Regions from separate parts of the Homo sapiens genome. Here all the other regions are linked to region 1. Evidence: promoter capture Hi-C in 16 types of primary human blood cells and fetal thymus (Javierre and others, 2016). All regions are on one chromosome and are shown on one strand. Each heading gives the region's core, a stretch centred on a gene start or on the middle of the fragment in contact. The rest is flanking DNA. Distances are from core to core; before and after follow the strand shown. Region 1 holds the start of ZNF32 (zinc finger protein 32). Region 2 has its middle 110 kb from the start of TMEM72. Region 3 has its middle 67 kb from the start of LINC00839. Region 4 overlaps LOC105378268 (a long non-coding RNA gene). Region 5 overlaps ZNF33B (zinc finger protein 33B). Region 6 overlaps TMEM72-AS1 (TMEM72 antisense RNA 1).

The links. Contacts are between HindIII fragments. The CHiCAGO score rates a contact against its expected background, and 5 or more counts as called.
Region 2: a contact is called between a fragment that was not itself captured here and the fragment with the promoter of ZNF32 in region 1, in 1 of 17 cell types (endothelial precursors). The highest score is 5.2, in endothelial precursors.
Region 3: a fragment that was not itself captured here is called in contact with the fragment with the promoter of ZNF32 in region 1 in 1 of 17 cell types (non-activated CD4 T cells); the score reaches 5.6 in non-activated CD4 T cells.
Region 4: a fragment that was not itself captured here is called in contact with the fragment with the promoter of ZNF32 in region 1 in 7 of 17 cell types (total B cells, naive B cells, activated CD4 T cells and 4 more); the score reaches 7.3 in total B cells.
Region 5: a contact is called between a fragment that was not itself captured here and the fragment with the promoter of ZNF32 in region 1, in 1 of 17 cell types (total CD8 T cells). The highest score is 6.1, in total CD8 T cells.
Region 6: a fragment that was not itself captured here is called in contact with the fragment with the promoter of ZNF32 in region 1 in 2 of 17 cell types (neutrophils and endothelial precursors); the score reaches 7.7 in neutrophils.

What each region holds. Positions count from the first base shown.
Region 1 is chr10:43,647,134-43,650,691 of GRCh38, forward strand. It overlaps ZNF32 (zinc finger protein 32), which reads right to left and starts at 1,748. Exons shown (of 3, transcript NM_006973.3): 1 at 1,669-1,748. All of the region lies in intron 1 of ZNF32-AS3 (ZNF32 antisense RNA 3), which reads left to right. ZNF32-AS2 (ZNF32 antisense RNA 2) reads left to right here. Exons shown (of 3, transcript NR_047558.1): 2 at 1-76; 3 at 436-886. RefSeq lists a silencer at 1,254-1,773. The HindIII fragment of the contact is 4,172 bases long and covers 913-3,558 here.
Region 2 is chr10:44,801,000-44,804,630 of GRCh38, forward strand. No RefSeq gene overlaps it. Among named protein-coding and RNA genes, the nearest start is that of TMEM72, 110 kb to the right of the region's middle. The HindIII fragment of the contact is 1,306 bases long and covers 845-2,150 here.
Region 3 is chr10:42,541,232-42,544,577 of GRCh38, forward strand. It overlaps the pseudogene ZNF37BP. Among named protein-coding and RNA genes, the nearest start is that of LINC00839, 67 kb to the left of the region's middle. The HindIII fragment of the contact is 1,048 bases long and covers 1,518-2,565 here.
Region 4 is chr10:42,638,943-42,642,332 of GRCh38, forward strand. The region is part of intron 1 of LOC105378268 (a long non-coding RNA gene); the gene reads left to right. Among named protein-coding and RNA genes, the nearest start is that of ZNF33B, 2.1 kb to the left of the region's middle. RefSeq lists a silencer at 2,639-2,933. The HindIII fragment of the contact is 1,839 bases long and covers 364-2,202 here.
Region 5 is chr10:42,621,592-42,624,931 of GRCh38, forward strand. The region is part of intron 4 of ZNF33B (zinc finger protein 33B); the gene reads right to left. Among named protein-coding and RNA genes, the nearest start is that of ZNF33B, 15 kb to the right of the region's middle. The HindIII fragment of the contact is 3,328 bases long and covers 177-3,340 here.
Region 6 is chr10:44,840,352-44,844,137 of GRCh38, forward strand. All of the region lies in intron 2 of TMEM72-AS1 (TMEM72 antisense RNA 1), which reads right to left. Among named protein-coding and RNA genes, the nearest start is that of TMEM72, 69 kb to the right of the region's middle. The HindIII fragment of the contact is 731 bases long and covers 1,500-2,230 here.

The DNA.
Region 1 (3,558 bases), core at 498-2,997:
ACAGCTTGCTGTGACTTTGAACTCCTGGACTCAACGGATCCTCCCACTTCAGCCTCCCAAATAACTAGGACTACAGGTAAGCACCACCAAGCCTGGCTAATTTTTAAAAATTATTTTAACTTTTTTTTGTAGAGATCGGGTCTCATTATCCTGCCCAGGCTGGTCTCCAACTCTTGGCCTGAAGTGACCCTCCTGCCTCGGCCTCCCAAGACATGTAGGCATGAGCTACTACACCTGGCCCACATGATCTATTTTTTAAAAAAAATATTTCTTCTTACTTCAGGATCCTAATTACTGAATTCTTATACTTTTAAGAAATGCAGTGGTTCAATGCATACTCCTTGTTTCCCTCTAATTTGTCCTATCAAAATGCTGGCCTTCTGATTTAATGAAATAATAGTATGATGCTACCATTCTTTGTTTTGTCAACCTAAGCACCTGGTTCTTCTTGACAACTGCACATTCTGCTACATGCTGTGATGACCAGGAGAATCATTTAAATTTTTATTTGGAGGACTCACTTCCAACTTGGAACACAAGCTGCAAAGGAATTCCCTACCAGCATGCCAGCACATCATTTGGAAGTTCAAGGTATTCTTGCTCAACAGCTGCACACACATTAAAAGTCCCTGGGGTACATGGCGCCTGCTGCCTGGGGTTGGACTCTGTCGCCGGGGATTCCAGAAATTAGAGTAGAATTCACAGCTCTGCCTCTCCACCTGCTGTGAGGTCTTCAAGTTACAACTCCGCCGCCTATCAGGGACCTCCGTGATTAGTAAGGGAGAAATTGTCATATTTTTCTCCCTAGATCACAGGTCTGAGGAAGCAGTTTCCCCAAGATTTTGTAAAAGTGGCTTTATAATTAAAAACATTGATTTTCCTATTAGAAAGGCTACTATATCCTTTGGAAAAAGCTTAGAAGTAGTCCGTGAGTCTTGGCTTCTTGCCGTGGCTCCCCCAGGATATGATCTTGGGCGAGTAACCCAGCAGCCCTGACTCTGCTTCCCCACTTATTAAACAGGTTACTAACACTGTCCTATCAGGTAGGACAATGAGAAGGAAAGAACCAAACAAGAGGAGTATCAGACGAGACCACCAGACTTAAGATCTAAAATCCGGCGTCCTCTGGAGGGCGGATGAGAAGAGGGGTACACTTGGCGGTCTGGAAAATGTCCTGGGGCCAGTTTCAGGTTTAGGAGCTTGTGGGTAGCGTGGTTTCCCACACGCTGCCTGGCTTCCTACTCTCCCCCGCAGGGGCTGCCTCTCCTCCCACCCCGGAAGGCCGGCACCGGCTTCCCGCACTCGCTGAAGCCCGCACGGAGGCCGGGTGAGCCTGCCGCGGCCTCCCCCTCCCACGCCCCGACGCCATGGGCCCTGCTCCTCTCCGCAGACGCTGCCCTCCCGCCTCAGGCCCCGGGCCCCGGGCACCGGGCCCGCCCTGCGTCCTGAACCTCGGCATCCCGCTCTCCGGTCCACGGGACCCTGCTCTGCGGACCGCCGACCTCTCCGCTCGCGGCTGGCCTCCCTCGGGGCCCGGGCCGGCCAGGCCTGCTCATTTCCTTGGCGGCCGCTGGCATAAGGCGGCCACACGGAGGGCCCGGGACAGCGGTCTGATGGCGCAGCCCCGCCTTGCCCCGGCGCTCTGACCCGGCCAGCGGCCTCACTCACCGCAGCGGCGCGTGCCCGCAGACAAAGGCCGGCGCCGAGCCCGCAGCAGCGCCAGCGCCGGCGCCGGCGGAATGGACTACAACTCCCAGGAGTCTCCCCGCGAGCCCGCCCGCCGGGCCGTGGGTCTCGGCGGCCCCGGCTTCCCAAGAGCTCTGTGGGAAATGTAGTTCTCTGGCGCGCCCTGCGCTCGGGCCCCGCAGGTCCCTAGGGCGCGGGGACCTCAAGCCGTCCCGTTTGGACTGGTAATCCGGAGACTCACAGCGGTGACCTGTCAGCGGACGCGGAGCCGGGACGGAGCCACGGCCGCTCAGATTAGCAGGATCTGATTGACAGCATCGGGGTAGCAGACGCTGAGCCAGGGACTCAGGAATACAGGGTTCTTGCAGGGCGTCGCGGAAGGAAACGAAGTTTTTGGGAGAAATCCGTTTGATAAAGCCTTGGCGGCTTCGAGGTCATGTGTTGAGCCTCTGGCTGCATGAACAAAAGCGAAGCCCGCTTTCATGGAGCTTCTGTGAAGAGCAACAGGAACACAGGCAGTCCAGTCGTCCTGAGATACTGGGAGGAGCATGGTTGCTTTTGAACACGTAGGAGATAAAGCCTCTCTAATAATGCCTGTTTTTTTTTTTCCTTCACTCTGTCTCCCAGGCTTGAGTGCAGTGGCACGGTGTCGCCTCACTGCAACCTCCGCCTTCTGGGCTCAAGTGATTCTCCTGCCCCAGCCTCCCAAGTAGCTGGGACTACAGGTCTGTGCCACCATGCCTGGCTAATTTTTTTGTATTTTTAGTAGAGATGAAGGTTTTACCATGTTGGCCAGGCTGTCTGATATGCCTTAAGCCTCTTTTAAACGCACTTTTCCAGGATCGGGGCCACATCCTGGAGCTGTTCTGCCTGGCCGGGTGTATCTCTGGGTCCCTGCCTCTGGAGCCCCTCTCCGTAGATGTGTCTGTCCATCCTCTTTCGTGAAGGACTAATAAAGAATGCTTCCTCTTGCTATGTTCTTGTTCTCTACCCCAAAGCCACAGATTTGTTAAATCAAACAACTTAATTTCACTCAATATGCAAAGGTGTCTGTAAGTAATAAGTTGATTCCTAAATGTTAGCTTTTACTATTGCACATCATTTCTGAATTTCATTCAACATTTATCCGTTGAATCCATTTTAAGTGCTGACACTGGGGATACGAATGTGAGCAAGACACACTCCGTGCTCCTAGGGAGGAGCTGACAGTCTGGTGGAGCAAACAAACACCACCTTCCTCACATGGGGGTCGGGGTGTTGCACAGCTAAGTCCCAGAGTGTGTGGTGCAAACTGTCCTGAAGCTCCCCATTCCTGAACTGCCCCAGGTGGCTCCTCTCCTCACTCCTCCCAAGTCTGAGAAAGGGGTGGAGGGCGGCACACAGCAAAGGCCAAGGCTCAGAGTCCTAAGGCTGCGGCCTCTGCTTCACACAAGGGTACATAGGTTCTGTTAAGGTCAAGACCGGCTGTGGACACTAGGACAAGTTTCAGATCCTGCCGTGAAGGTACATGACAAAGCATTGGTGGGAAAAGGTGGCTGTGAGGGGGGACCATCGTCACTTTTATAGATCTGCATAAATTCCCTTAAGGCGTCTCAGGAAAGTGGACACATTGAAGGGCCCAAAGCAGGGGAGAAAGCTGTTAGGATTGGGGTTGATGTGACCCCAGCCTCCATAGACAGACTGCCCAGCTGCAAAATGGGGCACATCCTCACCCACCACCTGCATCTTAAGGCAAATACTCAACAAAAGGGAGGGTGTGGGGTGAGGGTGAAAGGGAAATCATCCGCAGTGTAGATTTGAAAAATTACCAAAGAACAATTTCCTCACTTTGCAGGCATTTCAAAATATTAGGGGAAGGACAGATAATTCAAT
Region 2 (3,631 bases), core at 248-2,747, 1.2 Mb after region 1:
AAAAAAATGATTCATGGATAGGGGACCACTGAGGACTAGAAGTTTAGAAATAAAGAACAACTACAAAATATCCATAGCTATTATACTTAACAGTGAAAGGACAAGTGCTTGCACCTAAGCTCTAGAACAAGAAAAGGATGTCCACTCTCACCACTATCATTCAGCACAGTACTGGAAAATCCAGCCAGCACAATGAGGAATGAAAAGAAAGTAAAAGGCACATAGGATGGAAAGAAAAACTTTCAATACTGGGAGATGACATAATAGTCTACATAGAAAGTTCTGAGAAATTTTTCAAACAAACAAACCTAGAATAAGTAAGTTCAGCAAGGTCACAGGATAAAAGATCAATACACAAAAATAAATATGTATACATATGTACACACGTGTATATGTGTGTATGTGTGAGAGAGAGAGAGAGTGCTCTATATATGTTTTAAAATATAAAGGTTGGTTCTAGAATACTAACGATGTTAAAATAATTAAATGGGGAGGCCATTAGACTGAGGTGGCTCCAATGCCCTTTGTTCCTACATAAACAAACCCCTGAAACCCAACTCAGACTCATTTCCTATATATGACTAATTTTTTAAAAATTAAACTTAAGCTCAGCCCACCACCAGCCAACTGGACATTATTAGTTATATCACTTTGAACTTCCCACCTACATAGTCCAAATGAGGCCATTGTTCAAATTTTAACCAATTAATTTATTTGCTCTGCTTCCATATTCACCCTTTTAAAGCTTTTCATCTACCTCTGGGGAGTTCCAAACCACTCTAGTTTGGAGCTGCCCAATTCATGAATTACTGCTTAAATAAACTCCGAAATTTCAGTGCATCAAAGCTTATTTTTTTTAACAATGGAGATTGTCTTAAAATAGTGGAAATTCAGGTGATGAATTTTCTTTATAGAAAATCAGAACCAGGTCTCTCAGGTTGTCCCTGTGTCCTCTGGACAGTGGCACCTGCAGTTGTCCAACATGGGAGGGCAATACTCCCTGGACAGGAAGCACAGTCTTCTATTAGGGCCACTTGAATGACACTGAACTTGACACTGAGAACTTGTCTCTGAGAAATGACGCATTTTATTTTCCCACAGCTGGGGCCATGCCAGAGGCATTCATGCTGCGCTTTCTAAATACCTCAAAGACAGGCTGGGGCTGCAGCCAAGTCAGGCAATGAGCTGGCTGGGTGCCAGTCTCCCTGGGGTGATCCTGAGGCCTCTGGCTGAGTGCTCAGAGCCGGGTGTCTCCTGTGGCCCAGAATAAGGGAGGCACAATGGCCTTCCCACCTGTGCACCATCAGAACCAGGGGTTATGCAGAGGCTGAGTAAAAGAGGGTAATGACATGGCAGCCGAGATCCAGTCCCCTTTAAACTTAGAAGAAAATCCAAGCATCTTTCCACAGGCCCCTGAGGTCCAGCCTCCACCCAGAGGCCTCCAGTGACACAATATGGACATTACTTAAATTATGTGGTCAATCAAACATTTATGTATCAAACCAGGCTCAACGGAGTGCAAACATCCCACAGACAATCTATAGATTCTATTGGGAGGCTATAGTCAACTTATCAAGAAAATTGGCTGCAGGCACACACATGGAACTGTCCTGGAAGGGAAATCAGGGTTTGAGATGCACAGTCAGGGGACTGGAGGTTTCTTCCCCAAAGCATGACCACCAGGAAATCAGAATCAGCCAGTCCCTCAGAATCAGGAACAAGATCATTGCATGAGAGGAGAAATAAGACAGTACCCATAAGAGAAAGTCCAGTTCCGAATCTGAACCCTGAGTTCGTTTGGTTGTAAATCCCTTCAGGGATGTGCGTGTGTGTGTGTGTGTGTGTGTGTGTGTGCATGTTTGTTTGTGCATGCATGTGTGTACTATATGGAAATATAATTTTTGTGACTCATGTTTTCACTCAATAGTAAATTTTGATCAACTTCCCTCATCCATACAAACTTAGCTCATCCTGCCTCAGCTGCCAGAAGAATTAGGGTTTCACTGCAGGGCCGAGTAATTGGGGTTGGTGTTTCCTGGGTGTATTGTGCAGCTCTGCGCCAGCTGAGACACCCTGTGCTTCTGCCCACTGGTATTCAGAGCCTACAGGCACATCTTCCTTTTCCCTGGCTTGCAGGCTGAGCCAAGTGAAGCTTGGGCAGCGTCTTAGTGTGGTCCTCCAAATCATTCCCTCCAACTTGCTTCCTACCTGGCCTCAGCGCTCCCAGCCCTACTATTCCAAGCTGGGGTGGTTCACACTCTCTGGGGAAGCCCATCCATTTCTATCCCATCTCAGTGCTGAATCCTGGAAACCACTGGTTCCAATGCCATTGACTTCCTTTCATCAAAAATTTCCTTTATGCCTCAGACTATTTATGCCACCATTTTCCACTTTTCAACCCTTTTGCAGATTTTCAATTGATTCCTTTCAAAGGTAAACACACATGGACTCAGCATCAGGAAACTGGAAAATGGGTGCTCTTAAGGCAAGATGGGCAGACAGAACAGCTTGTTCTTGTTCAGACTCAAACCCAGGAAGGGCCACGATGTGACCCAAGAACCTTGAGAACTTTGGTAGCAGAGGGAGCAGAGGTGAGAGGTGAAAATGCTCATTCCATAAGCATTCGCAGAGTGCTCATTTGACACCAGGCCTCTATCAAGTGGCAGGAGACAAGATGAAGGGACCTCAAGTGCCAGAAGATGCAGGACTTGGCCCACATGGCGATTCCTCTGGGGGAGTTAGGGTGTTCTGGAACTGCATTGAGTGGCCCTAGCCACATGACAATCATGCCCCTGTTTGGGGTTGCAGCACCTCTGGCAGTAGGTGCCACCCTGGCCAGTTTCACAGGGTAAGAGAGGCAGCTACAGAGATGAAGAGCTTGGCCAAAAGAAAGAGCTCAGACAAGGATGAAATTCCCGCAAAACTCAGTTTTTAAATAGAGTTATCAGATCAGAAATCCAACCAGTGAGCAATTAGGAGGGAGGAGGTGTGTAAAGTAAGAAAGTGCTGTGCTCAGCACTTTTTGGATGGGTGAGAGTTATGGCTGTTGTTCTTTTAGTGCCTGGAAAGTGTTATTAATAGCTATGGGAAAGGGATTTTCCCATCTGTTCTTTCAAACACACACATGCATACTTTAACGTTATCTTGTATTTTCAGATGCTTCTAAAATCTACAGTCAATGAGTTACTTGTATGGAGAGGTTAAACATGCCAAGGTTTCACCAGCCATGAGCTTCACCAGCAGTGGGGAGAGGGGAGTCTGGAAAGCCGGGAGATTATTCCTTGTTTCTCAGCCAGGCTCATCTTCGGGCTCTGCAGGGGCAGCCTTACTTTACAGTCAGTCTTGGGAGGAGTGTTCTCCAAGGGAGGGTAAGGATAGCCAGGTTTAAAGAGCAAGGAAAGGGAGACAAAAGGCAAGCCCAGAGGCAGGTGCCAGTGGCTGTTGTAGCAAGTCCCTTTGCCTCTTCTTCAGGCCATTTTCACTGCCACTTGTGTCAGCTCTGGAAGACCACAGGAGCTTCCAGGTGGTCCTAGCCCCAGACTCTAATTTTGCTTGAAATCCACTAATTCAGATTCTCCAATGGCTGTGCCCTTCCTGGCATGGCCCACCTCCTCTGCACTTTCCCCCTGGA
Region 3 (3,346 bases), core at 792-3,291, 1.1 Mb before region 1:
AGCAAAGAAGGATCAAACTAAACCCAAAGCTAGCAGAAGGAAGGATATAATACATATTACAGCAAAGATAAGTGAACAGAAAATAGAAAACTACAGAGAACCAAAAAATCCAAAAGCTGATTCCTTAAATAGAACAAAATTCATAAGCTTTTAGCTAGATTGACTAAAGAAAAAAAATTCAAAGGACTAAAATCAGCAATGAAAGTGACATTACAAAAAAAAATGGGTTATAAGAGAATACTATGAACAACTGTACACTAATAAATTAAGTAACTCAATGAAATAGACACATTTCCTAGAAGCACACACATTACTAAAACTGACTCAAGAAGAAACAGAAAATCTCAACATACTTATAACAAGTAAAGAGATGTATCAGTAATTTTTTAAAAAACTGCCCAAGGGAAAAAAATCCAGCGTAAGATGGCTTCACTGGTCAATTCTATCAAATTAAAGAAGTAATACTAATCTTCCTCAAACATTTCCAAAAATTAGAAGGGAATACTTCCTAACTAATTCCCATGAGTTTTATAATGCTGGCCAGCATTATCTTGATACCAAAGCCAAAAAAAGACTTCACAGGAAAATAAAATTACAGGCTAATATCCCTTATGAATACAGATGTAAAAAATTATAAAATACTAGCAAACAAAATTTGGCAGCATATTAAAAACATTACATACTATGACCAAGTTGGATCTATCCCAGGAATGCAAGAGTGGTTCAATATAAGAAAATTAATCAGTGTAAGACACCACATTAATAAAACAAATGAATAAACACGTGATCATATCAATGAGGCAGAAAAAAATACAAAACCCAATACCATTCAAGGATAATAAAAGTCAGAAAACAGAGGAAAGGAAGCAAAGTTCTTCAACATAATAAAGTGCATATATAAAAAACTCACAGGTAACATACTCCATAGTGAAAGACTGAAACATCCCCTCTAAGATCATGAACAGGCAAAGCATAGTGCTTTCACCACTGCAATTCAACACTGTATTAAAAGTTCTAGCCAGAGCAAATAGGCAAGAAAAAGAAATAAAAGACATTCAAATTGAAAGGCAGAAGTAAAACTACTCTATTTGCAGATAACATTATTTAGCAAATAATCCACAAAAAAACTATGAGCTAACAAATGGTTTCGGCGAAGTTGCAGAGTACAAAATCAACACATAACAATTAGGTTTTCTGTAAAAAAAAAAACTCCAACAATGAACTATCCAAAAGGAAATTCAGAAAATAATCCCATTTATGATAGTATCCAGTAGAATAAAATACTTAAGTGTTATGGTCTGAATGTTTGTGCCCTTCACAACTTCATATGTTGAAATCTAATACCATTGCAATAGTATGAAGAGGCATGGCCTTTAGGAGGTGATTAGGAAGCTCTGCCTTCCTTCATGAATGAGATAAGTGTCCTTATAACTTAATGGACAAAGTAGTGGCTTCACAACCTGGAGAGACAGGTTTAGATACTGTGCTGCCAATAAGCAGAAATTTTATTTTTGATAAGCTTACATAAAGTAATAATGTTTTTCCAAAAATAAGACTTTGTCAAATGGCCCCTTTTAACTTCTAAAATTTTTTAATACATCAAATCTGATTTGAATATTTAATATAGCAAGTATGGATAATTCCAGGAAGATGGTGATCTAAGGGATCAAACCAGAGCTGAGGAGACAGGTAGCACTGGCAGGTTTAAGAGATTAGATACAGGCTGGGCGCAGTGGCTCATGCCTGTAATCCCAACACTTTGGGAGGCCAAGGCGGGCAGATCACCTAAGGTTGGGAGTTCGAGAACAGCCTGACCAACATGGAGAAACCCCGTCTCTACTAAAAATACGAAAGTATCCAGTCATGGTGGCACATGCCTCTAATCCCAGCTACTTCAGAGGCTGAGGTAGGAGAATCGCTTGAACCCAGAAGGTGGAGGTTGCAGTGAGCTGAGATCATGCCATTGCACTCTGGCCTGGGCACCAAGAGTGAAACTCCATCTCAAAAAAAAAAAAAAAAGATTGGATACAAACAGGGAGAAGGAGCAAATAAATATTGTGGATAATGATATAGCCTGGTTTCTCACTATTGGAGAAAGAAGTTACAAAGATGGAAAACAGAAAGGCTATGGGGTTAAGATTGAAACTGGGAAATGTCTATGTAAACTCATTGTTTAAAAAATATGTATAGACAGACCAATACAAAAATAAGTGTACACATGTGTATTTCTGTGTATGTGTATGTACACATACATACATGTATTTCCTATCTCTGTCAATTGAGAGGGTCTGAGGCAGTGACAGCCTCTAGCAATGAGCACCCAGATCTTGGTTTTTAAATTCCATCCTCCACTAGAAAGAACAATGTCCTTTGGAGAAATGGCTGATGGCAAAGGTAGTGCAGGAAAAGGACAAGATGGGCCAGGCATATCTGTTGTGCCACAGAGTAATTACTCAAAAATTGATGTGGGAAGCAGGCTGAAAATGGAATAGGTAATTCCAAAATTCCATCCCAAACTAAAGCAACAATTAAGCTGGAAAAACAAAAAAAACCCTCTCAGCATCAAGCTTTTCAGAATTCTCCAATCTAATTAAAAACCTAGTAAGCCCAGAACATTTCTGGCGTGGCTTGCTGATGCCTGTGCCAAAGTGGACAGTATGCACTTTGTTTTCAGAGAACTGTAGTTGTGTGTTTTGATCTGTCTATGCGGGCTCTCTGAAGAAGTGGCTCACAGGCTTGTCTTTGTTTTGCCTGCCTTGGAACTTTCTCAGGGCTAGTCTTCCAGGAAGTGCTAGTTGAAAGCATTTAAAGGCAATTATCTGGCCTCAGCAGCCAGATGAGAAAAGCAGCAGATGGACTGATAAAACTGGGAGTGGAAAAACTGGGAAGGAAATACATGGGGGCCGGGGTGGGGATAAGGGGTTTGAAAAGCTCCTGCATAAACCAGGGAATTGAGGTCATGTGCAAGGCCAGGGCAATATGCACGCTCACAAAAAACCTGAGAGGAACCTAAGCTTTCAGTCTGGTTGACCTTCAGGCTCAGTGTAAGCAGGAAGTAAAGCTTTACACAGAGATGTAAATGGCCTGGCAAACCATTACAAGAGCGCCCTAAAACAGGGCAAATATGCAAAGACCAGAATAGTTTTTTGTTTTGTTTTGGCTTTGGGCATTTAAAGAAATCTCTGTCAGATCACAAACTGACCACTAAACTAAGGGAACAGAGGTTTCTGTGACCATGTACAACAAAGAACTTTACAAAAATAGTTTTGAAAAGTCACAAAATAAACAAACAATGCAAAATAAACAGCAACAACAAATTCTGGGGAAAAGAATCTGATTTCTAGAA
Region 4 (3,390 bases), core at 33-2,532, 1.0 Mb before region 1:
ATCAGCGATTCTTTGAGAGCAGGGATGGGGGGGATGGGGGAGGTGCCACAGGAAAGCTACTTCATCAAAATCGTTAACGCAATAAACGGAAATTGAAAAGTCAGAAAATAGACATAATCCGAAAGAAGAAAATAAATGTCACATGATTTCCCCTGTGACATTAAAATTGCTTGACTAAATGGAAATACATTTAGTCTATCTGTACCTTTCTTAGGAAGACAAAATTCCTAAAAGAATATCAACAAATTTTTTTATGTATTTTTTCTCTTTGATCTTTAGTGTATTGTGTACTTTACAAAAGCATTGTCAACTTTATCCAGAGTAAGTAAAAAACTAAATGAACAGCCATTATACGTTTTAAAAAGCTTGAAAAAATGCCTGAGAAATATCTATATCTATCTATATATATAATATTGCTCTATTCAAAGTAGTTTGGCACCTGCTCCATGGAAATAAGACACCATGATTGAGAGTATTCTTTAATGTGTAGTAAATACAGCATTTCAAAACAGTGAGGGAAAGAATGGAGTATTCCAAAGAGCATGTCATTCCTAACAATTTGGAATATAGAGATATATATAGATCACACGTGATAAAATTCACATGTATACAGTATTGAAACATTTAAACGAGTATAAATTTTTGAAAATTGACATGTGGGCCAGGCACAGTGGCCCACACCTGTAATCCCAGCAGTTTGGGAGGTGGAGGCAGGAGGACCACTTGATCCTTAGAGTCCAAGACCAGCCTGGGCGTTATAGTGGGACCCCTGTCTCTACAAAAAATTAAAAATAACAATTAGCTGGGCATGTAGGCAGGCGCCTGTGATCCCAGCTACTCAGGAGGCTGAGGTTGGACGATCACTTGAGCCCCAGGTTGCAGTAAGCCATCATGGCACCACTGCACTCCAGCCTGGGTGACAAAGTGAGACTTTGTCTCAAAAAAAACCAAAAAGGGATGTGATACCAAAGACAGAAACTATAAATTTAATATCAGTTACATTTTATAATAGAGAAAAATAAGCAGCTCCATTCCAGCAAAACTTTTTAAGTCCATTATGAGAATTGAAAGAAATGCAAATATGGCCGGGCATGGCAGCTCACGCCTGTAGTCCCAGCATTTTGGGAGGCTGAGGCGGGCAGATCATGAGGTCAAGACATTGAGAACATCCTGCCCAAAATGGTGAAACCCCTTCTGTACTAAAAATACAAAAATTAGCTGGACGTGGTGGTGCGCACCTGTAGTCCCAGCTAGTCAGGAGGCTGAGGCAGGAGAATCGCTTGAACCCGGGAGGTGGAGGTTGCAGTGAGCCAAGATCGCACTACTACACTCCAGCCTGGTGACAGAGTGAGACTGCATCTCAAAAAAGAAAAAAAGAAAAAAGGAAATGCAAATATTTGAGTAAAAATATGTGAAACATATTGAAATTTACATTTTTAAATTTATGCTTTATATACTGAAAAGTTCACTTTATTTGTTGCATAATTTTATGAGTTTTGACAAACGCACAGATTTGTGTAACCACCACCACAAGCAAGATACAAAATTATTTCACCTGTCAATAAAATTCCTCCATGCTACCTTTTGAAAGTCAGATTCTCTAACCACTCTTAGCCTCTTGCAGCCACTATCTAGTCTTTGGGCCTGTATGTTTGCCTTTTTTAGAATATTATATAAATGGAATCATACAATATGCAGTCTTTGAATCTGGTATCTTTTACTTAACACAATGCAATTGAGATCCTTCCGTGTTGTTTTGTGTACCAATACTTCTGTTTTTCTTGCTGTTAGAAACAAGTGCCTGGTGCCGCAGAGAAAACCAGCACAAAGGCAGAAAATTCCTCAGCAAGAGAAATTTACTTCTGCAGAAGGGTGCAGGTTATGCCAGTCATGATCACAAGAGAACACCGAGAAGGGCAGGGCAGGGGTTTTTATCCCTGATGCAGTTCCTAGCACTTCTGTGTCCCTTCCCCATTGGCTGGGATTAGACCTCACAATCAAAGCTAACTCGATTGGCTAAGGTTTAAAATTGACAGGGTCTATTAGGCGGGAAGGAAGGGGGACTGTCCATTACTAAGCGGGAAGGCATATCCGGACTTGTCTGGGCATGGCAAAGGCGGGAAGGTTGTTTACAGAACAGGTAGCTTGGAGACAAGGAAGTACAAGGAAGTTGGTCTTGAGCAACAAACAACAGGGAACTAAAGCTTTCTGAAGAGTAATTTGTCAACTCTGACATTGCTGACTCCTATTTCTTGGTATGGATTTACCAGCTTCCTTGTCCATTCCCCAGTCCAGGGATATGCAAGTTGTTTCCAATTGGGAGAAATTGTAAATAAATAAAATATTTTTAAGTTTAAGATTTGAAAAGATTGTAAAAAACACTAATATACACCTATGGTATGGGCTTGGGGAAATGTTTATTCCCAGTGTATTAATCAGGATTCTCCAGAGAAACAGAACCAATAGGAGGGAGTAAGGGAGAAAGAGACATTGATGATGAGAAATTGGTTCACATGTCTATGGAGGCTAAGAAGTCCAACAATCTGTCATTTGCAAGCTGGAAATCCAAGAATGCTGGTGGTGTAATTCTGGTATGAGTCCAAAGGCTTGAGAACCACGGAAGCCAATGGTGTAAATCCCAGTGCAAGGACAGGAAAGGATAAGATGAAATGTCCCAACTCAACAATGAGGCAGAAAATATGGGTGAATTCCTCCTCTCTGCCTTGTGTTCTATCCAGGCCCTTAGGGGATTGAATGATGTCCATACACATACGGAGGGCAATCTGCTTTACTGAGTCTACTGATTCAAATGCTAATCTCATCTGTACACACCCTCACAGATGCACCCATAAGTAATGTTTAATCCAGACACCCTGTGACCAAGTCAAGTTTACACATAAAATTAACCATTAACCATCACAGCTATTCTATTTTTTTTTTTTTTTTTTTTTTTTTTTGAGACAGAGACAGAGTTTTGCTCTTGTTGCCCAGGCTGCAGTGCAATGGCATGATCTTGGCTCACTGAAACCTCTGCCTCCCGGGTTCAAGTGAGTCTCTCAAGTAGCTGGGATTACAGGCATGTGCTACCGTGCCTGGCTAATTTTTTGTATTTTTCCTAAAGACGGGGTTTCTCCATGTTGTTCAGGCTGGTCTCGAACTCCCGACCTCAGGTGATCCACCAGTCTCGGCCTCCCAAAGTGCTGAGATTACAGGCCTGAGCCACCACACCTGGCCACAGCTATTCATTTTTACGGTGAATTTGATTAACTCTGGAGGCTCATTTTTTCCTCTCATTTCTTCTTCGGTTTTTGTACCTTTTTCCCTTTTACATTTCGTTGACACCTAATAATTGTGCATATTTAGGGGATATAGACTGATATTTTGACATGT
Region 5 (3,340 bases), core at 591-3,090, 1.0 Mb before region 1:
CAAGTAAAAAAAGGACACGATCATCTCAGTTGATGCAGTAAAGGCAGTTGACAAAATCCAACCCCTTTCAGGACAAATACATTCAGAAAACACAAAACAGAATAGAACTTCTTCAACATGATAAAGGGCACATATAGAAAATTCACAGCTTTACATCATATTCACTGATGAAAGAAAGCTTTCCTCTTAACATCAGGAAGAAGACAAAAATACCCACTTTTGCCAGTGCTATTTAACACTGCAGTAGAAGTTCCAGCCAAACAAGAAAAAGAAAGAGAGGCATCCATTGCAAAGGAAGACATAAAACTATGCCTACTCACAGGTGACATAATCCTAAAGATAGATCATAAAGAAACTACAAGAAAGATACTATAGCTAATGAATGAATTCTGCAAAGTTGCAGGATACATCAACACACAAAAATCCGTTGTGTTGCTACACACCTGCAAAGAACAATCTGAAAAGAAAATTAAGAAAACAATTCTACCTATAGCACCATCTAAAAGAATAAAATACTATCTAGAAATAAAGTTAACCAAGAAGGTGCAAGACTTGTATACTAAAAACTACAAAATACTGATGAAAAATATTAAAGAAGGCATAAATAAAGGAAACAGTATCTCATGTTCACAGTTTGAGAGATGTCATATTTTTAAAAGGCTAATACCATCCAAAATGATCTACAGATTTAACACAATCCCTATCAAAATTCCATCAGCATTTTTACCAAAATAAAAAGCTGATCCTTAAAGTCACGTGGAATTATAAGGGCCCTGAATAGCGAAAACAATTTTTAAAAAGAAGAACAAAGTCAGAGGACTCAAAACGTCCAATTTCACAACTTATTAGAAAGCTACAATAATCCAAACAGTGGGTCATGTCATAGGTGTAGACATACAGACAAACGGAATACAAGTGAGAGCCCAAAAATACACTGCCTATGGTCAACTGATTTTTGACAAGGGCGTCAATTCTATTCACTGGGAGAAAGAAAAGCCTTTTCTTTCAGTTAATGCAGGCCAAATATTGTCACGCTACTGACATGAGATACAACAGTCATACTCACAGACAAAATAGATTAGAGGTTACCACAGGCTGGTGGGAATGGGAATGAGTAGTTACTGCTTAATGGTGATAGAGTTTCTGTTTGAAATGATGACAAATGACCAAAAAAATGATGCTGGGTTAACTGGATTTCCACATGAAAATAAAGTTAGAAAATAAAGTTAGATCCCTACTTTGACTATACACAAAAATGAACTGAAAATAAGAGCTAAAACAATAAAATGTTTAGAAGAAATGTTCAGAAGAAAACATAAGGAAAACTTTGGGTTTGGTGATGGATTCTTAACTATGACATAAAATGGATAAGCAACAAAAGAAAGAGTAGGTACGGCCGGGTGCGGTGGCTCACGCCTGTAATCCCAGCACTTTGGGAGGTCAAGGTGGGTGATCACCTGAGGTCAGGAGTTCAAGACAAGCCTGGCCAACATGGTGAAACCCCGTCTCTACTAAAGCCACAAAAATTAGCTGGGCACTGTGGCATGCGCCTGTAGTCCCAGCTACTCGGGAAGCTGAGGCAGGAGAATCACTTGAACACAGGAGGCAGAGGCTGTGGTGAGCCGAGATCGTGCCACTGCACTCTGGCCTGGGTGACGGTGAGACTCTGTCTCAAAAACAAATATCTGTGTATATATACACATTAAAAATAATTCAGTGGTACCCCAAAAAGCTAAAAGAAATACACTTTGATAAAACAATTCTACTCCTAGGTTTATATCCAAAAGAAATGAAAACAGGAACTTTGAGCAGATAATGATATACCAGTGTTCACTGAAGCATTATTCACAACAGCCAAAAGGTGTACGACCCAAGTGTACATCAACAGATGAATGGATTAAACAGCCAGAAAAGAAAGTCTTGATACTTGTTACAATACAGATGAAAGCTGAAAGCATCATGCTAAGTGAAATAAGGCAGACACAAAAGGCCAAATGTTGTCACACTACTGACATGAAATATTCACAACATTCAAAACTCACAGAGACAAACTAGATAAGAGGTTACCATAGGCTGTTGGGAGGGGGGAATGAGTAGTTACTGCTTAATGGCAATACAGTTTCTGTTTGAAATAATGCAAATGTTTTAGAAATTGTGGTTATGGCTATACAACATTGTGAGTGTAATGCCACTAGACTGTACACTTAAAAACTGTTAAAATGGCAAATTTCATGTTATATATATTTTACTACACACAAAACAATATATTGTCAAAATGCTCCAGCATCATTTGCTGAATACCTGACTGAATTTCTTTTGCATTTTTGTCAACAGTTTGTCAAATGTCTTAGCTTCAGCTGCCATAACAAAATACCAGACAGTATGGCTTAAACAACAGAAGTTTATTTCCTCACGGTTCCAAATGCTGGAAGTCTGAGATCAGGATGCCAGCATGGCCAGGGCCTGGTGAGGGCCTCTTCCCAGCTTGCAGTTGGCCACTGCATGTTCACATCGCCTTTCCTCTACGCACATGGAGAGTGAGGAAGCTCTCACTTCCTCTTCCTGTAAGGCACTAACCTCATCGTGAGGGCCCCACCCTCATGACCTAATCTAACCCTAATTACCTCCCAAGGGCTCCACATCTCCAAACACCACCACACTAGGGTTGAGGGCTCCAACATATGAATTTTGGGGAGACATGAACATACAGTCTATAACAGCATAATCAATGTTGAAGTTTTCTATTCTTTTCCATTGTTCTATGTGTATGTTCTATCAATGTGTATATTCAACCAACATCCTGTCCTCTTGATTATTATAGCTATTAATATATACATACAGTAGTCACTCCTTATCCAAGGGCGATACATTCCAAGACGCCCAGTGGAAGCCTGAAGCCTCAGATAGTATTGAGCCCTATAAATACTGTTTTTTCCTAAATATACAAACCTAAGATAAAGTTTAATTTATAACTTAGGGACAGGGAGAGATTAACAACATCATAAAATAGAAAAGTTATAACAATATGCTGGCATCGCTACTCTTGCACTTTAGGGCCATTATTAAGTAAAATAAGGGTTACTTGGACACATATAGTGACAGTAAATAATCAAGACAATTACTAAGTAATTAACTCATGGGTAGCATATACAGCCTGGGTATGCTGGACACAGGGTTGATTCATGTCCTGGAACAGGACAGTGCAAAATTTCATCATGCTACTCACAACAGTGTGCAATTTAAAACTTAGGCATTACTTATTTCTGAAGTTTCCTATTTAATATTTTTGAACCACAGTTGACCTCAGGTAACAGAAACTGCAGAAAGCAAAACCACAGAA
Region 6 (3,786 bases), core at 615-3,114, 1.2 Mb after region 1:
CACCTTGGCCTTCCAAAGTGCTGGGATTACATCAAATGAGCTTTCTTAACCTCTCATGAACTCAGGATACTGGATGATTTATTTTCTGTCTATCAGATAGCATTCACAAGACTTTAATTTGGAATAGAATTAAGTACTCCATGAATGCACTAAAGAGGCCAAATAAAAGGTAGAGGTTGGCAGAGAACACTCTTTAAATGGCCCAAATATATGTTGTTTATAAGAAACTCACTTCAAGTATAACAATATAGGCAAGTAGAAAGTAAATGGATAGAAGAAAAATATATATATATATATAATGCAAACACTAATCAAAAAAATGAGTAACAATGTTCATATCAGATAAAGTAGACTTCAGAGCAAAAGCAATTACCAGAGACGTTATTTAATGATAAAAGAGTCAATCCATTTAGAAGGCATAGAAATGCTAAACGTGTATGCACCAACCAACAGAGCGACAAAATATGTGACGTGAAAACAGATAGAACTAAAAGGAAAAATAGACAAGTCAACGGTTATCATTGGAAACTTTAACACCCCCTCTCAACCATTGGTAAAAAAAAACTAGACAAAAAATAATCAAGGATACCATCAAACAGCAAGAGCTCATTGACATTTATAGAACACTCCACTCAACAGCAGAATGAACATTCTTTTCAAGTGCCCACCAAACCTATGCCAAGATAGACAGTGCTATGATTTGAGTGTTTGTCCCCTTCAAAACTCATTGTAAAATTTAATCCCCAATGTGGCAGTATTGAGAGGTGGGACCTTTAAGAGGTGATTGGGTCATAAAGGCTCTGTCATCATGAATGGACTAGTTCATTCATGGATTAATTGGTTAATAAGTTGTCATAGAGGTGGGACTGGTGGCTTTACAAGAAAAGGAAGGGAGACCTAAACTAGGACATGAGCATGTTAAGCCCCCTTTCTATGTGATGCCCTGCACCATCTCAGGACTCTGCAGCAAGTCCGCCCCAGCAAGAAGGTCCTTACACGATGCAGCCCTCAACCTTGGGCTTCCCAGCCTCTATAACCATAAAAAAAAAAAAATCCTTTTCTTTATCAATCGCCCAGTTTTGAGTATTCTGTTATAAGCAACAGAAAACAAAGACAGACACTATCTTAGGCTATAAATCTAGCCTCAGCAAATGTAAAAGAATTGAAATCAGAGAGAGTATGTTCTCTAATCACAATAAAATCAACTAGAAATCAGTAAGAGAAAGATAACAGGAAAAATTTCAAGCACTTGTAAACTCACAAGCACATTTCTAAATAGTCTGAGTCAAAGAGGCTATCTCAAGGAAAATTTGTAAATGCATCGAGCTAAATAAAAATTAAAACATAACATTAAAATTTGTGGGACACAGTTAAAAGCAGTGCTAAGAGGGAAATTTATAGCACTGAATGTACACAATAGAAAACAAAAGTTTCAAATCATTTATTTATGTACCTCTGTCAAGAACCTAGAAAGAGAAGACAAAAATAAATCCAAAGCAAGCTTCCAGAAATAACAAAGATAAATCAGTGAAATTCAAAAGAGAAAAACAATAGGTTATCAATGAAACTGACAAACCTCTAATAAGATTGGCAAAGGGAAAAGAGAGAAGATACAAATTACTAATATCAGAAATAAAACAAGGAAAACCAATACAGACCCTTCAGACAGCAAAAGGGTGACGAGGGAAAGCCATAAACAACTTAGCACACATAACTACAAAAACTTAGATTTAATGGACCAAGTCCTTGAAAAGGACAAATTACCACAGCTCATCCAATATAAATAAATAGTTTGAATAGCCAATAACTATTAGGGAAATTTAATTTGTAATTTTAAAACCCCCTAAAAGAAATATTTATGCCCAGATGGAAATATTTATCTCCAGGATTCCACTGGAGATTCCTACCAAATCTAAAGAAGAATTAACACCAATTCTGTACATCTTTTCCAGGAAATAGAAGGGGAGGGAATGCTTTATCAAAGTTTAAAACTTTTGTGTTATTACTTTAAAGAGACAGGGGCTTGCCATGTTGCCCAGGCTGTTCTCAAACTCCTGAGCTCAAGCAATCCACCACCTCAGCCTGCTGAAGTGCTGGGATTACAGGTGTAAGCCACTGTGCCTGGCCTAAAAACTTTCGTTGAAAGAATGATAAGATGAGTTACAGAGTGTAAGAAAATATTTGCAGATCATATATCCAACAAAGCACTAATATCTAGAATATATAAAGAAGCTTCAAAACTAACAATTAAAAAAATCGAATTAGAAAATGCACAAAAGACACAAAGACAAAGTGGATATACAGATGGAAAATAAGCCCATGAAATATTTTACATCATTAGCCTTTAGGGAAATGCAAATTAAAAACACAATGAGATACCACCAATATACCTACATTAATAGCTAAAATAAAAAATAGTAAGGCCGGGCGCGGTGGCTCACGCCTGTAATCCCAGCACTTTGGGAGGCCGAGGCGGGTGGATCACGAGGTCAGGAGATCGAGACCACGGTGAAACCCCGTCTCTACTAAAAATACAAAAAATTAGCCGGGCGCAGTGGCGGGCGCCTGTAGTCCCAGCTACTCGGGAGGCTGAGGCAGGAGAATGGTGTGAACCCGGAAGGCGGAGCTTGCAGTGAGCGGAGATCGCGCCACAGCACTCCAGCCTGGGCGATAAAACGAGACTCCGTCTCAAAAAAAAAAAAAAAAAATAGTAACAACACCCAATGTTGGGTGCAACAACCAATGTTGGGTGCAACACCCAATGCATGGATGCAGAGAAATTGGATGACTCGTACATTGCAAGTAGGAATGTAGAATCATTCAGCCACATTGGAAAACAGTTTGGCAATTTTTTAAAAAAATAAACATGCAAATAACATATGACCCAGTGATTATACTCTTGGACATTTGTCCTAGAGCAATGAAGGCTTACATTCACACAAAAACTTGTTCACAAATATTTATAGCAATTTATTTACAACAGTTAAAAACTGGAAACAACTAGATGTCCTTCAGCAGGTAGATGGTTAAACAATTGGGTACTATTAATATATATCCATACTATGGAATACTACTCAGCAGTAAGAAGAAACTATAGATAAATACATCAAACAGATGAATATCCAGAGAATGATGCTAGTGAGAAAAAGCCAGTTCCAAAAGACTGGCTTACACACTATCAGATACACACTATCTGATTCAATTTACATAATATTCTCAAAAATGACAGAATTATAGATGTGGAGCACAGAGTCGTGGTATCCAGGGTCTAAGGAGGGGTGGAGATAGGAAAGAAAGTGGGTATGACTATAAATAGACCACATGAGGAATCCTTGCGGCAGTGGAATGCCCTGTAGCTTGGCTGTTCTGATGTCAATATCCTGGTGGTGATATTGTACTGTAATTCATGGTACCATGGATATACCAGGATTTGTTTAACCACTGAAAGCAACTGGGTAAAGAGCACATGGGGTCTCTGTGTAATATTTCTAGCAACTGCATGAGAATCTACAGTGATCTCAAAATAAAACTTTGATTTCAAAAAGAAAAAAATGTTTTTAATCCAAATATTTTTAATCCTAAAGGCATATGGAAACAGAAAATAAATAAATACTACGTTAATTCTTTTCACTACAAACGGTCTTTCATAAACTCTTCAGAGTTTTTCTGAATGGAGAATTGTAATTCTAACTAAAAGATCTACTACTTATCCTGAATGTGGAGTCAAGGTAGAGTTATCACCATCCCAATAAACTGCACATTTCACCTCTGCCTACGCCAAGGATC